Regions from separate parts of the Homo sapiens genome. Here all the other regions are linked to region 3. The links are contacts of gene promoters, found by promoter capture Hi-C in blood cells and fetal thymus (Javierre and others, 2016). All regions are on one chromosome and are shown on one strand. Each heading gives the region's core, a stretch centred on a gene start or on the middle of the fragment in contact. The rest is flanking DNA. Distances are from core to core; before and after follow the strand shown. Region 1 overlaps LARS2 (leucyl-tRNA synthetase 2, mitochondrial). Region 2 overlaps LARS2 (leucyl-tRNA synthetase 2, mitochondrial). Region 3 holds the start of TMEM158 (transmembrane protein 158). Region 4 overlaps LOC124906233 (a long non-coding RNA gene).

The links. The method cuts DNA at HindIII sites, captures the fragments that hold promoters and counts their contacts. A CHiCAGO score of 5 or more calls a contact.
Region 1: a contact is called between a fragment that was not itself captured here and the fragment with the promoter of TMEM158 in region 3, in 4 of 17 cell types (M1 macrophages, M0 macrophages, M2 macrophages and 1 more). The highest score is 13.3, in M1 macrophages.
Region 2: a fragment that was not itself captured here is called in contact with the fragment with the promoter of TMEM158 in region 3 in 3 of 17 cell types (M1 macrophages, M2 macrophages and M0 macrophages); the score reaches 6.2 in M1 macrophages.
Region 4: a contact is called between a fragment that was not itself captured here and the fragment with the promoter of TMEM158 in region 3, in 6 of 17 cell types (naive CD4 T cells, total CD8 T cells, total CD4 T cells and 3 more). The highest score is 6.2, in naive CD4 T cells.

The regions. Positions count from the first base shown.
Region 1 is chr3:45,465,127-45,468,468 of GRCh38, reverse strand. All of the region lies in intron 8 of LARS2 (leucyl-tRNA synthetase 2, mitochondrial), which reads right to left. Among named protein-coding and RNA genes, the nearest start is that of LARS2-AS1, 43 kb to the left of the region's middle. The HindIII fragment of the contact is 3,752 bases long and covers 137-3,342 here.
Region 2 is chr3:45,444,587-45,447,841 of GRCh38, reverse strand. LARS2 (leucyl-tRNA synthetase 2, mitochondrial) reads right to left here. Exons shown (of 22, transcript NM_015340.4): 7 at 862-951. Among named protein-coding and RNA genes, the nearest start is that of LARS2, 58 kb to the right of the region's middle. The HindIII fragment of the contact is 5,856 bases long and covers 1-3,255 here.
Region 3 is chr3:45,224,999-45,228,526 of GRCh38, reverse strand. TMEM158 (transmembrane protein 158) reads left to right here and starts at 2,240. Exons shown (of 1, transcript NM_015444.3): 1 at 2,240-3,528. The coding sequence starts at 2,500. The coding sequence ends at 3,402. RefSeq lists silencers at 1,994-2,333, 2,344-2,413. The HindIII fragment of the contact is 4,918 bases long and covers 1,144-3,528 here.
Region 4 is chr3:45,077,961-45,081,356 of GRCh38, reverse strand. All of the region lies in intron 1 of LOC124906233 (a long non-coding RNA gene), which reads right to left. Among named protein-coding and RNA genes, the nearest start is that of CLEC3B, 53 kb to the right of the region's middle. The HindIII fragment of the contact is 286 bases long and covers 1,200-1,485 here.

The sequences.
Region 1 (3,342 bases), core at 763-3,262, 240 kb before region 3:
AGGAGAGGGAGGGAGTAGTCCAATAGCTACAACTTGAAAATTGTCCTCAGCCTAATCTGTGGCATTGACTATCCTTGCCTGAAAAGTGGTCTTATTATTCCAGGAAAGGGGAGTCTTGAGGGCAAGGCTGAAAGCTTTTATTGGTCTAATCATAAAAAACAAAATGGTAACAGCCATCCCAGGGGACATTCTACTCACTTACCTTCAAGTTGGAAGCCTCCCTATAGATTGAATATTTGCAAGAACATAAGACCATCCCTTTCTAAGACACTCAGGTCTAAAGAAGATGTGTAAATAAATGATGATCTAACCCGGATATCATGCTGTTTTATTTTATGATTATCAAAATGATAATAATCTTTTTTTTTTTGAGACAGTGTCTCACTCTGTCGCCCAGGCTGAAGTGCAGTGGGGTGATCTCGGCTCACTGCAGCCTCGACCTCCTGGGGCTCAAGTGATCCTCCCACCTCAGCCTCCTGAGTAGCTGGGACTGTAGGTGCATACTATAGGTGAACACCACCACATGCAGTTAATTTTTGTATTTCTTGTAGAGATGAGGTTTGCCAGTTGCCCAGGCTGGTCTTGAACTCCTGGGCTCAAGCGATCTACCCACCTTGGCTACCTTGTTGAGATTACAGGCATGAGCCACCTTGCCCAGCAATAATCTTTTTATGGAAAATTTGGAAGAGAAGAAAATTAACAATTACCCACAATTGGTCAAAATACCCAGGGAGATGACTATTAATATTTTGTTTTATATCTTTCCATCCTACTTATATTGCATCTTCTATTCACTCTAAGACATACATTTTCCCAAAAACTCTGACACTGGGACATGTCTTACAATCAGTGGTATCTTACAATATATTGAGAGCATTTTTCTTTCTTAATGGAGCATTCAATTTAAAACTAATCATGTCAGGATTGATAAAATCTTGTATGTGTGTTTATATATATGCTTTTACATAGTTAAGAGCATGTTGTTAATATACTCTTTTAAAACTACAGAATGTATTTTACCTGAGTTTTCAACTTATTACAGCTCTACTGTCTCTATTTTGAGCAAATCTGACACTTAGAGCTAGCCATCTGGTAGCAGTAAGCAAATACACAGAGAAGTGGAAAGGTGCTGTGGAAAAGTGTCTCTCTGCATAAGAGAATGGTTATTTTGAAAAACACAGTATTGACATGTATGTATCTGTTAATGACTATTTGCTTCCTTCATAGCAGCAGCCATTGGATCGGTCTTTACTGGTCTCTCTGCAGCTGGGCTCAGAAGAACCCAGGGTAAGGACAGAGCACTGGAGTAAATAATGACAAAAGCAAGACAGAGAGGACAATGAGTCAATTCCACCAAGAACAAAACAGAAAACCTCTAATCACCACACTTTCCATTACCTGGCCATTTGTGCCCATTCTGTACTTACTGCATTTCCTATCGCTAATGTGCTGCCTTCCTGCAACACACGCTGACTGGCTATTGTCTGCACATGATTCTCAGAAATACTCAGTTGCTTGGGAACTGTCCCCAAGAGCAGGGGTAAACAATGCAGGTGAAACCCCGTCTCTACTAAAAATACAAAAATTAGCCGGGCATGGTGGCAGGCGCCTGTAATCCCAGCTACTCAGGAGGCTGAAGCAGGAGAATCACTTGAATCTGGGAGGTGGAGGTTGCAGTGAGCCGAGATTGTACCACTGCACTCCAGCCTGGGAGACAGAGTGAGATTCGGTCTCAAATAATAATAATAAAAAAGAAGGCAGGACTGGGACTGAGGAGACCCAAGTTGGGTTCTGGCCCTTCCCTGCTCTTGGCACCTCAATTATATAATAAGATGTGGGCTGGGTCAGCAATTTTCAAGGATGGGACACACACCTCAGGATGGCAATCAGCCCCCTGGGAAGGAGTGAGAAGGACATGATGTGGGCCGCTCAAAATAACGCAACACCTTATTCATTTATTTTAATTTGTTTCCAGACATCATATTGATTTTGCAATTTCAAGCAGCAGTAAATGCAGGCATGAGGGGTTTTCTGTTTATTTGCTTTTATGTTTTTCAGATCAGGGCAGGGATTAAAAAGAGACCCGAGCTAAATGCTCTCTCAAGTTTCTTCTAGCTTTGAAGTTCAAATAACTCTCCAAGCTGAAGAGGTTCATTGGTGACACTCACCAGGCCTGTGCAGCGATCCCTGAGACCCCTCAACAAGAGGCTAAATACATCTCTTCCCATGGAGTCCAGGCTGACACCTCAAGAAGACCTGTACACCCAAGAAACAGGAGCTCAAAAAGGCCACTCAGGGTTCAAAAGGAACACAAAATGCTTTTCTATCTTTATGGTTCCTGATCAAATTTACAATGTATTTCATTGTCCATATACCATAAGAAGTATACTATTAAATTATTTCTTCCATTTTTCCTTTGCAGTCATTCCATCTTGGAAACAAAACATGAAAACCTTTCTCTTTGCAGAGCAGGTTGCTGACCCAGAGACTGCAGAAGTTTTCTTTTATTCTCATACATCTGGAGTACATGTACCAAGCATACCTGTCTTTATTTCCCTGACAGGGACGGACAGTGGAGTGTGCGCAAGAAGTCAGGGCTAAGGGAAATGAGATGATGATAGAGAATTGACCTAATAGAGACTACATACAGATGTGACTAGGCATTGGTGGGGGACATCTGGGAGGTCAGCAGGAAGGCCCTGCATTCAGGGAGGGAAACCTGATGGCCTGTACTGTCTCTGTACCATTTAGAAACACCACTGGTTTCTGAATCCCAGAGCGAAGGCCCAGCCCTGTACCAACCCCTGGAGGACCTTTCCTGGAGGAAGTTCCCTCTCAGGCCTGCTGAGAGCCAGCCAGGTGCCTCCTCCCAGCATCTCGCCTTGGCCCCGGGCTGTTATTAAAGATTTTACTCCCTCTATTCAGGCAGCTTTTTGCTTGCCTGGGAAGTGACAGGGAAAAGCCAGCCTCAAGTTGTCTACTTTTCTGTGGCCTCTGTGCCCTTCCTACCCCTGCCCAGTCCCATCCCTAGAAGGACTTCTGAGGGGCTGGCTCTCCCAGTAACAACTTCCACCTGGTCCCTGTGGCACTGGCCACTCTGGCCAGCAATCATGCTGAGGAGGGCTGAGAGCATAGGATGGAGGATAGAAAAGCAGAGAGTTCAGTTTAGAATAGCTTAGGAGAGAAAAGACGCTGGAGAGGCAGGGAAAACAGAAAACAGAAGCAGGAGATATTATGTAAGAAGGAGCAGAATTTAACTATTAATTAGCTTTGTGAGACAGGGAGTCAAAACCAGATCCCTGGGACTGGGAGCAGAATCTACTGTAGCCAAGAGAAGAGACA
Region 2 (3,255 bases), core at 378-2,877, 220 kb before region 3:
CAAGTCTTACCTATCATTATTGAGCTCCCACCATAACAAACACTTTCATTTCTCGGGAGACCACTGTGATAGCTGTTCTTTAACTATTACCTTTAATCTTTCCAAGAACCCTGTGTCTTCCTCCATTTTCTGCTACTGTAATAGAATACCACAGACTGGGTAATTTATTGATAGAAGTTTATTTGGCTGATTCTGGAGGTCAGGAAGTCCAAGAGCATGGTGCCAACATCTGCAAGGGCCTCTGTGCTGCATTATCCCATGGCAGTAAGTAGAACAGCAAGTGACCGTATGACACACACACACAGAGAATTTGGCTGAACTCATCCTTTTATTGGGAGCTCATTCCCACAATAATAACATTAATCCATTTATTAGGACAGGGCTGTCGTGACCCACTCACTTCTTAAAGGTCCCTCTTCTTAAATCCATCACAATGGCAATTAAATTTCAACATGAGTTTTGGAGGGGACATCCAAACCATAGTACCCCACAAGGAAAATGTCCCCATTCCCATTTAGCAGATACAAAACCATGTTTCCTAGAGGTTAAGTTACCCAGATGTTCACATAGCTGGGAGAGGGAGCTGAGCTAGGATTTGAGAAGCCTGTGTTCTTTCTTCTTATGCCCTCTCCTTGATCTCATTACAGGAACCAGACAATAGGTTATGGGGTAAGAATTCAAGGGTAAAAGAAGCCCAGACCCTGTCTTGATGACACTAAACTTAAGTAGGAAGTAGTTACGTTCTGGGTCTGCTGTGACTGATTTTATGAACTTGAGGTAGCGTTCATTTTCGCTGCTACTACAATGATGTATCCTAAAGAGATTCACTGAATTTTAAAAGTCCAGCTAATTTTAACTTACCTCCTTTTGATAGGCCAGCCCAGCCTCATACAGTTTAATAAAGAGATACTGAGTCCACTTGTAGTAATCTGGCAAACACGTAGTTATTTCCTGCCAACAAAGAAGAAAAATAATGTACAGGCCATTATAAACATCCCCCCAGCCATGCATGCTCAGTCTTGCAACTGAATTTTGAAAAGTAATGAAATCACAAAAATATTTACCAGCTCAAAATATTTTCACCAGTTTGTAAAGTAAGGAGAGTCACAATTTATTCTGGAAAGAGATGTTATTGAAATGCCACCTACACCTTTCTGAGAGCATGTTCAATGAGAAACTCAACTTCAAGTCTTTTGCACACCTCCTGCCCACTCATCTATGGCACTAACAAGTGAATTACATTGTACAAAATTGGGTATTAACATTTTTGTCAGCACAAACATACACTGGGGGCCTGATGCTTATTCACAAATGTAGCTCATTTTGAAAGCAATCACAAAATTCATGAGGAATATTTGCCTGCCTCAGTATGATCCTCATTTGAAAATACATCTTGTGTTTCCACATAAAACTGGGGTCTAGTGGCTCCTTTAGACTCGTATATTCCATTTATTCCATTATGTGAATCAGGCTGTTGTTTACTTAGGAAGAACAATTAAAAACATTAAACTTAGTAAGAAACCACTTGGTTTATATTTCCAAGCCTAAATCAAAGGTTCCCCAAATTTACTTTCTGTCCTAAAAACACATTTGTTATAGAATTCTTAAAAACAGAATTTACAGTTGATAAAGTCAAATAAGCATAAAACCTCTATACTGTCACGTTTCTTTTCTAGTGCTCTTTAACTTCAAAAACTAACGCAGAAATGAATGATGGGAGGGAATGTTTCAAATGACTCCGTTTGTAACAGACTTTTTTATTTTTAAGAGACAGAAGTCTTGTTCTGTCACCAAGGTTGAAGTGCAGTGGTGTGATTGTGCCTCACTGTAGTCTCGAACTCCTGGGCTCAAATGACCCTCCCTCCTCAGCCTCCCCAGTAGCTGGGACTACAGGTGTGTGCCACCACGCCTTGTAATAAACTTTTGATAGAAAGCGTACTTTTACCAAAAGTGCAAACAATTCAGTCTTCCTTAAGATGAATAAATGAGACAGCTTCAAACCCGGACTTTGGGTATGTGGTAGGAACTAAGCAAGGTGTCAGGTAAACATCTGTGCCCCCAGTGGGCTATTTTTCTTATGTAAGACTCCTGAGTCCTTTTTTGTGCTGTTTTATAAAAACAGCAGAGTAATAACTATTAGAAAACAATTCTTTTAAAAGGAAAATAACACAACTCTGACTATTGGCTCTACCTTCCCACTTCAAGGCAACTAGTGAACCACCAGCCAGTCAAAGGGCTTTGCCCACATTGTAGCTGTCCACCTAGGCCAGCTTCCACAACACAAGAGCCATAATTTCTGAGCCATGCATACGACGCAGCCTGCTCTGGCTTCCAGCTTCACAGATGTCTACAGGGGTGTCGTGCACAAAGATCTTCACCAACTCAAGAACCTAACCAGCACTCTGCCAATGGGCTTGCTCCCCAAAACCTCCAAATTCATCCTCATCCATCATCTTTTCCTCCACAGCTACCCCTCCAGCTAGCATGGCACAGAACTTGTTTTCCTCAGTTTTCTAGACAAGAAATTTAAAAACTTCCACTGTTAACAAAACCCAGGGCAGGAGCTATGTTTGGTCTATTTCATTTTGCTCATTGTAGTATGCTCAGGTCCTGGCACATTGAGGCACCCAAAATTGTTGTTGAAGGAAGAATAAACTAGATAGAGATATGAACTACTGACATTGAATCAAATTTGATTCCTTCATGTAGGTTTCACCACAAAATTCAAATTATTACACTGTTGTCCCCAAGATGAACTGGGATAGGGGATGTGGGTAAGGGGTGGAGGTAGTATGGTAAAAATATTCCTAGACTTGGTCATTGTGGATATATCTTTTTATTTTTAAAAAATCTTTACCCACTAGAGGTTTAGAAAAGTGTGTGAAATAATTTTGAGAAAATAATGAGAATTGTTAAATCTAAGGGATAGAGGTTCAATATTTTCTTTTCTCAATTTTTCTATTGAGTTGTTCATAATATCAAAATTCTTTTAGTAAATATATAACACATAATATATATTATATATGTAACACATATACAACATATTTTATATATACACACATATATAAAATATACAAATATGTGTTTTTTTCTCTAAGCCGATGAATCTGCTTCCTAGAGTGAGAGTAAAAATTACACAGCAATGAAACAGCATTGTTTTTTTTTTTTTTTTTTTTTTGAGACGGAGTCTCGCTCTGTCGCCCAGGCTGGAGTGCAGTGGCGGGATCTCGGCTCACTGCAAGCTCCGCCTCCCGG
Region 3 (3,528 bases), core at 991-3,490:
GAGGCAGGAGAATGGCTTGATCCTGAGAGGCGGAGGTTGTAGTGAGCCGAGATCGAACCACTGCAGTCCAGCTTGGGTGACACAGCAAGACTCTATCTCAAAAAAACAAACAAACAAAAATGTATTTACTGAGCCTCTACCCTGAGCTAGGTGCTTTTCCCGTTGCTGGGAACAGTAGTAAACAAGATAGAAAATAACTTCCTCGCTATCTTCTGTTCTCAAATTCCAAAAAGATAGCAAATCAATCTAGAAAGTAGGATCTGTGTTACTATTTGAAGGGTAATTACATTCTGAATGAGGGCGAGGTGACGGAGTCCTCAGGACGGCACCTGCTGGAAAAGTGGGCAGAATGCAGGTTGCTAGGATGCAGAGCTTCAGTGGCGCAACTTTGCAGGGAACTGCTTGGCTCCCCAAATAGATCTCTTGTCTTTTCCCTTTGCTGCTGCCTTCCCCCCTGCACAGACAAAGCCAGGAGTGTCTCAGGAAAGCTCAGGAAGCCTCTGCCTCTGACTGAAACCCCAGAGAATGTCATCTGCAGTCACAGGCAACAGCCTGGCTCAAAACGCACCCCTTGAAGATTAGGCCTCCCTCAGCCCTCAGGATCACTTGATATTCCTGTTCTTCAGGGTTCACCAGACACATGGCTTAAATTAAAACTGTTCTGCCACATCACTGAGCAGCTTCTGTTCCTGATATGCAAAGGTTGAAAGGAGAAGTCATTTTTATTAAAAGCAGGAAAATTCACATTGTTCTCCCTGGTAGCACCACTTCCAAGCACAAAAGTGATGGAGGCTGAAACGAAAAGGGAGTCCCATCCCCTTGGGGAAATGAACCATTTCTGTAGAAACCAAGGACCACTCTAGGCAGCCAACTTGGGCAGCACTGTTAGTAACCACATCACAGCAACCACCATGTGGGAACATCTGGGGACAGATAGACACTGGGTTGGGAGTATTATCACAGCAGCCCTGTGAGGAGGTACCACCCACCCCCCAACTCAGATGGGGAAACCAAGGCTAAGTCAGAATAATGGCTTGCTTAGATGGCAAGAGGTGGAATAAGTTGGGGAGCTTTATTTTGAGGCGTTTTTGCAACTTTCTCAGTCCCATTTTACTCATTGTTAGAAAACAATGGACAAAAGCTTCCAGAAAAGTAATCAGCCAGGATGCCTAGCAATGTAGCTGGACTCTTGGCAGACCTCTCAGGATTAGCTGGTTTAGAAGGAAGGCGGTTTTGTTGAGGCCTTTCTCTGCTCCCTCCACCCCTCCCCTCTCCGAATCAGGAATACTTGGTGCTCATGGAGTACAAGGGCTTCCAACTAAAATAAAATAGATAATAATTCAACATAAATGTCCCCTAAAGAACGATGGGAATGATGAAGGGTCGTTGAAGTTTGTTTCCAAGTGTGAGGGGCCGAACTACTAAGAAAGTGCTTTTCAATATAAATGTGATAAATCTGATCTCTTGACACGTTATTCTTGGTAGCCCTCCTCCCGTATAATATCCCAAAGGGGATGAACTGCCCCTTTGACGTGGGTTCTAACCTACAACTGTTTCATGAACACGCGCTCACTCGACCTGTCAGGACCTGTGTCCTCGGGACCCCCAGGCGGCACAGCTTCAGGGCTCACATTCCCCCCAGCCAGTCACTCTCCACTCGAAACTCCACAGAGTTCTTGGAATTTTCCTCGCTTGCTGCGAGGAGAATCCCAAGTGAGTCTGCTGTGTTGGAGCCATTAAAAAGCAGCCAAACTCTACAGATTTGAGGTAAGAGACACCGTAAAAAGGCAGAAAGAGCTAGTGGCGCGGACTTGTTTCTGGCTCATGAGTTGGCCTAGCGAGGCCCTTTCCCCTCTCTCGACCTCAGTTTCCCCTTCTGTAAAACAAAGGAGGTTCGGTAGCACTAAGGCGAGACAGCGAAGCTCCCCTCAGGCCTGACAAAAGGATGGTCTCCGGGCCCTGGAGCCTCCCTCTGAGAACGCGATTCACCCGGAGCGCGGGGGCGCCCGGGCGCGTCCGCAGGCTTCCCCGCCCGCCCGCACGCACCCCGGGCGATCCGCTCTCCGCCGCGCCCCCGCACCCAGCCCCGCCCCGGCGATTCCTCTCCCAGCCCCGGCGCGTGGAACCCCGCCCTCCCCTGAGTCCCCGAGCCTGGCGAGCGGAGGGCGGGGCGGGGCGGGGCACGCGGGAGGCGGAGCCGAGCCGGGGAATCCTGCTCTGGGATAGCACCCGGCCCCGCAGAGCAGCGCGGCAGCCCAAGGGCCCCGGCGCCGGGGGCGGCGGGGAACCCCAAACGCAACCGGGTCTGGAGGGATCCCCGCGCCGAGCCAGCCGCCGTCACCGCCTCCGCGCCGCCCCTGCGGGCTTGGCAGGCGCCCGGCGCGCCCGCACTGCGCCCGGCCGCCGGCTCCCGCGGTCCCACCGTGAGCTCGCCGGCCCGTCGCCCGCTCGCCATGCAACCGCCGCCGGCCTCGCGCGCGTAGGCGCCCGCCGCAGGCCATGCTGCCCCTGCTCGCCGCGCTCCTGGCCGCCGCCTGCCCGCTGCCGCCCGTCCGCGGCGGGGCCGCGGACGCGCCCGGCCTCCTCGGGGTGCCCTCCAATGCTTCAGTCAACGCGTCCTCCGCGGACGAGCCCATCGCCCCGCGGCTGCTGGCCTCGGCGGCCCCCGGGCCCCCCGAGCGCCCGGGCCCGGAGGAGGCGGCGGCGGCGGCGGCGCCGTGCAACATCAGCGTGCAGCGGCAGATGCTGAGCTCGCTGCTCGTGCGCTGGGGCCGCCCGCGGGGCTTCCAGTGCGACCTACTGCTCTTCTCCACCAACGCGCACGGCCGCGCTTTCTTCGCCGCCGCCTTCCACCGCGTCGGGCCGCCGCTGCTCATCGAGCACCTGGGGCTGGCGGCGGGCGGCGCGCAGCAGGACCTGCGCCTCTGCGTGGGCTGCGGCTGGGTGCGCGGTCGCCGCACCGGCCGCCTCCGGCCCGCCGCCGCCCCCAGCGCCGCCGCCGCCACCGCCGGGGCGCCCACCGCGCTGCCAGCCTACCCCGCGGCCGAGCCGCCCGGGCCGCTGTGGCTGCAGGGCGAGCCGCTGCATTTCTGCTGCCTAGACTTCAGCCTGGAGGAGCTGCAGGGCGAGCCGGGCTGGCGGCTGAACCGTAAGCCCATTGAGTCCACGCTGGTGGCCTGCTTCATGACCCTGGTCATCGTGGTGTGGAGCGTGGCCGCCCTCATCTGGCCGGTGCCCATCATCGCCGGCTTCCTGCCCAACGGCATGGAACAGCGCCGGACCACCGCCAGCACCACCGCAGCCACCCCCGCCGCAGTGCCCGCAGGGACCACCGCAGCCGCCGCCGCCGCCGCCGCTGCCGCCGCCGCCGCGGCCGTCACTTCGGGGGTGGCGACCAAGTGACCCGCTCCGCTCCTCCCTGTGTCCGTCCTGTGTCCGCGCGCGCGGGTGCCTTTCCCGCCGGAGACTCGGCCGGTGTGCTTCGTGCTGTAGTTATCGTTAGTTCCTCTTCCCGAGATGGGGCCGCCG
Region 4 (3,396 bases), core at 93-2,592, 150 kb after region 3:
TCTCAGTGGGAGAGGTGTCAAAGAATTTGCAGCCATCTGTAATAGGCTTCAGTGGGGCTGGGGAGATCACAGCCAAGTACCATGCCTGTGGACAGCACTGACCACCTTCACTACTGCGTCCTTGATCACCATGACCACATCTGGGCTGCATCCCACCTCTGACTGCCCCTTCTCCTGGATCCTGTTCCCAGGACTCAAGGTTCAGTCTTTGGTCTTCTGGCCTTTTCTCTCTGGACACTGCCCCATAGGGAGGGTACTGTCTTAGTCCATTTGTGTTGCTATAAAGGGATACATAAGCCTGGGTAATTTATGAAGAAAAGAGGTTTATTTGGCTCATGATTCTGCAGGCTGTACAGGAAGCATGAAACCCAGCATCTGCAACTGATGAGGGCCTCAGGCTACTTCCCCTCATGGCAGAAGACAAAGGGGAGCCTGCATGTGCAGAAATCACATGGTGAGAGAGGAAGGGAGAGAATGGCAGGGGAAGGGGTGGCGCTAGGCTGTTTTCAACAACCAGCTCTTGAGAGAACTAAGAGAGGAAGAACTTGCCGTGGACCCAGGAAAGGCATTAACCTATTCTGAATGGCTATACAAGATTACATCTTCTAAGGTCACTTCACGCTCTAGAATGCTTTGATTCCTCCAGTCACCCAGGCCCAGAATATTGGACCTAACTTCATTTCATCCCTGTCACTCACCCTGATTGTTCTAGATTCTCCTCCCATCCAACATCCCCCTCTATTCCACCATTCCTTTTTCATCATGTGACTCCCTCACTCTGAAATCTGTGCCTCCAGACTTGGTTGGCCCTTAGAACAGAATCCTTGGTCTTTTGCTGGTGGTGTGGCACCTCCAGTCCACTGCCTGGCCCTCCTAACCTCTTCAGACCTCTCTCCGCCCACTTCATCCATGACTTCAAAACTCTATTCCAGTGGGGCTCTGAATCCACTCCTGCCCACACCTTGCTCTTGCCCACACCTTGCTCTTGCCCACACCTTGCTCTTGCCATTGTTCCTGGACAACTCACAGCAAAAGCTGCCCACCTTCCATGCCTTACCAGCACTTCAGAGTCTATCACAGAGCCCATTTTCTCCAGGAAGCCCTCCAACTCTGCTAAGCTCTCCTTCTAAATCCCAATAGTCCTTTTGATTCATAATTCTTCTGCATGTAGCTGTATTAGTTTCATAATTTAAAAAGCTTGTGCTTGTGTGTCTTTTGCTTAACCAAGATGCTACTTTTTTCAGAGGTAGAGGTCCATGTCTTGTACTTAGTCCATCTGTCTCACATTGTCCAATGCAGTGGGTGCCCTAGAAATTATGTCTGTTACATTTAATTGTCAGAAACATGTTGTACTTCAGCTATGACTTCAGGCAGGTGTTATACTGGAGGCTTCCAGATGGCAAGGAGGAAGTAGATGTCAGGCAAGTGCCCTGTGTTTTACAAACCTTATCTCATGTCACCAATTAATATCCTAGCAGCAAAGCTTATTTTCAGCTTACTGGTGAAAGAAGGCCCAGCAAGGTGAAGTCACGAGCCCAGGGTCACAGAGCAGCAAGAGGCAGGGCAGCAACCATACAGCCTTTCCACAGTGCTCTGCTACTCAGCTAGGCCATGAGACTGGGTTCTCCTGGGAGCCACAGTCGGGAGAGTGGCTGCCGAGGAGTCTGGTGGACCCCAGGGCTTCCTAGATAGTGTTTGTCTCTTTTTCTTTCCTTCAGGAGGCCACAAGTTTGAGGTGGAGGAGGTCTCAGGGACACTGAAGCACAATATCTAGTCCTAGGCACAAGATTAAATATTCTAAGGCCACTTCTAACTCTAGAATGCTTTGATTCCTCCAGTCACCCAGGTCCAGAATATTGAACCCAACTTTGGTTCATCCCTGTCACTCATCCTGATTGGCATTTCTGCTTCCACCTATATGCCCTGCCCTTTCTGGACTTTGTGTTGGCAGCTCCTCCCCCAGGTCAGGGATACTTGGGGATCTGATGTTAAAGCCACAGGGCAAAGCACCTATAGCCCTCCAGGCTGCTGCCAAACCTGTCTCCTTTACCCTCGCCCTGCCCTTCAGACCCAGCCTCTCATGGACTTCTGTTCCCCACGGAAGAGGGGAGTCCTGTTCACATCTGTGTGGTCTCTGGGATCATCTCTAATCAGTGCCACATCAAGGCATCCTCAGCCAGTCCTGGGGAGCCTGCAAACGACACCCAACCTCACAGCTCACTGTTCTGTTTGGGCGGTTCACAAGGCTGTTTCTTGGCTTTAAACGTGCTTATGACGAAATGAGAAAGGTGGAACTCAGCCTCCTGCTGGCCAATTCTCTCCTAGCCTCAGGCTTCATAAGAACAATTTTTTTTTTTTTTTGAGACAGAGTCTCGCTCTATTGCCCAGGCTGAAGTGCAGTGGCATGATCTTGGCTCACTGCAACCTCCACCTCCCAGGTTCAAGCGATTCTCATGCCTCAGCCTCCTGAATGGCTGGGATTACAGGTGTGCCCCACCACGCCTGGCTAATTTTTGTATTTTTAGTAGAGGCAGGCTTCACCATGGCCAGGCTCAAACTCCTGACCTCAGGTGAGTCTGCCTGCCTTCACCCAGCAAAGTGCTGGGATTACAGGCATGAGCCCCTGTACCCAGCCTTAAGAACCTCCTAATGATCCCATGAGTTATATGGATGAACCAGCACGGCCTCTTCTCTGCCCTTTAATGTAGGTGTATTAGTCCGTTTTCATGCTGCTGATAAAGACATACCTGAGACTGGGAAGAAAAAGAGGTATAGTTGGACTTGCAGTTCCACATGGCTGGGGAGGCCTCAGAATCATGGTGGAAGGTTAAAGGCACTTCTTACATGGCAGTGGCAACAGAAAAATGATGAAGATGCAAAAGCAGAAACCCCTGACAAAACCATCAGGTCTTGTAAGACTTACTCACTACCATGGGAACAGTATAGGGAAAACTGCCCCCATGATTCAAATTATCTCCCACCAGGTCCCTCCCACAACATGTGGGAATTATGGGAGTACAATTCAAAATGAGATCTAGGTGGGGACACAGAGCCAAACCATATCATCCCACCCCTGGCCCCTCCAAATCTCATGTCCTCACATTTCAAAACCAATCATGCCTTCCCAACAGTCCCCCAAAGTCTTAACTCATTTCAGCATTAACCCAAAAGTCCACAGTCCAAAGTCTCATCTGAGACAAGGCAAGTCTCTTCCACCTATGAGCCTGTAAAATCAAAAGCAAGCTAGTTACTTCCTAGACACAATGGGGGTACAGGTATTGAGTAAATACAGCCATTTCAAATGGGAGAAATTTGTCAAAACAAAGGGATTATAGGCCCCATGCAAGCCTGAAATCCAGTGGGGCAGTCAAATCTTAAAGCTCCAAAATGATCTTC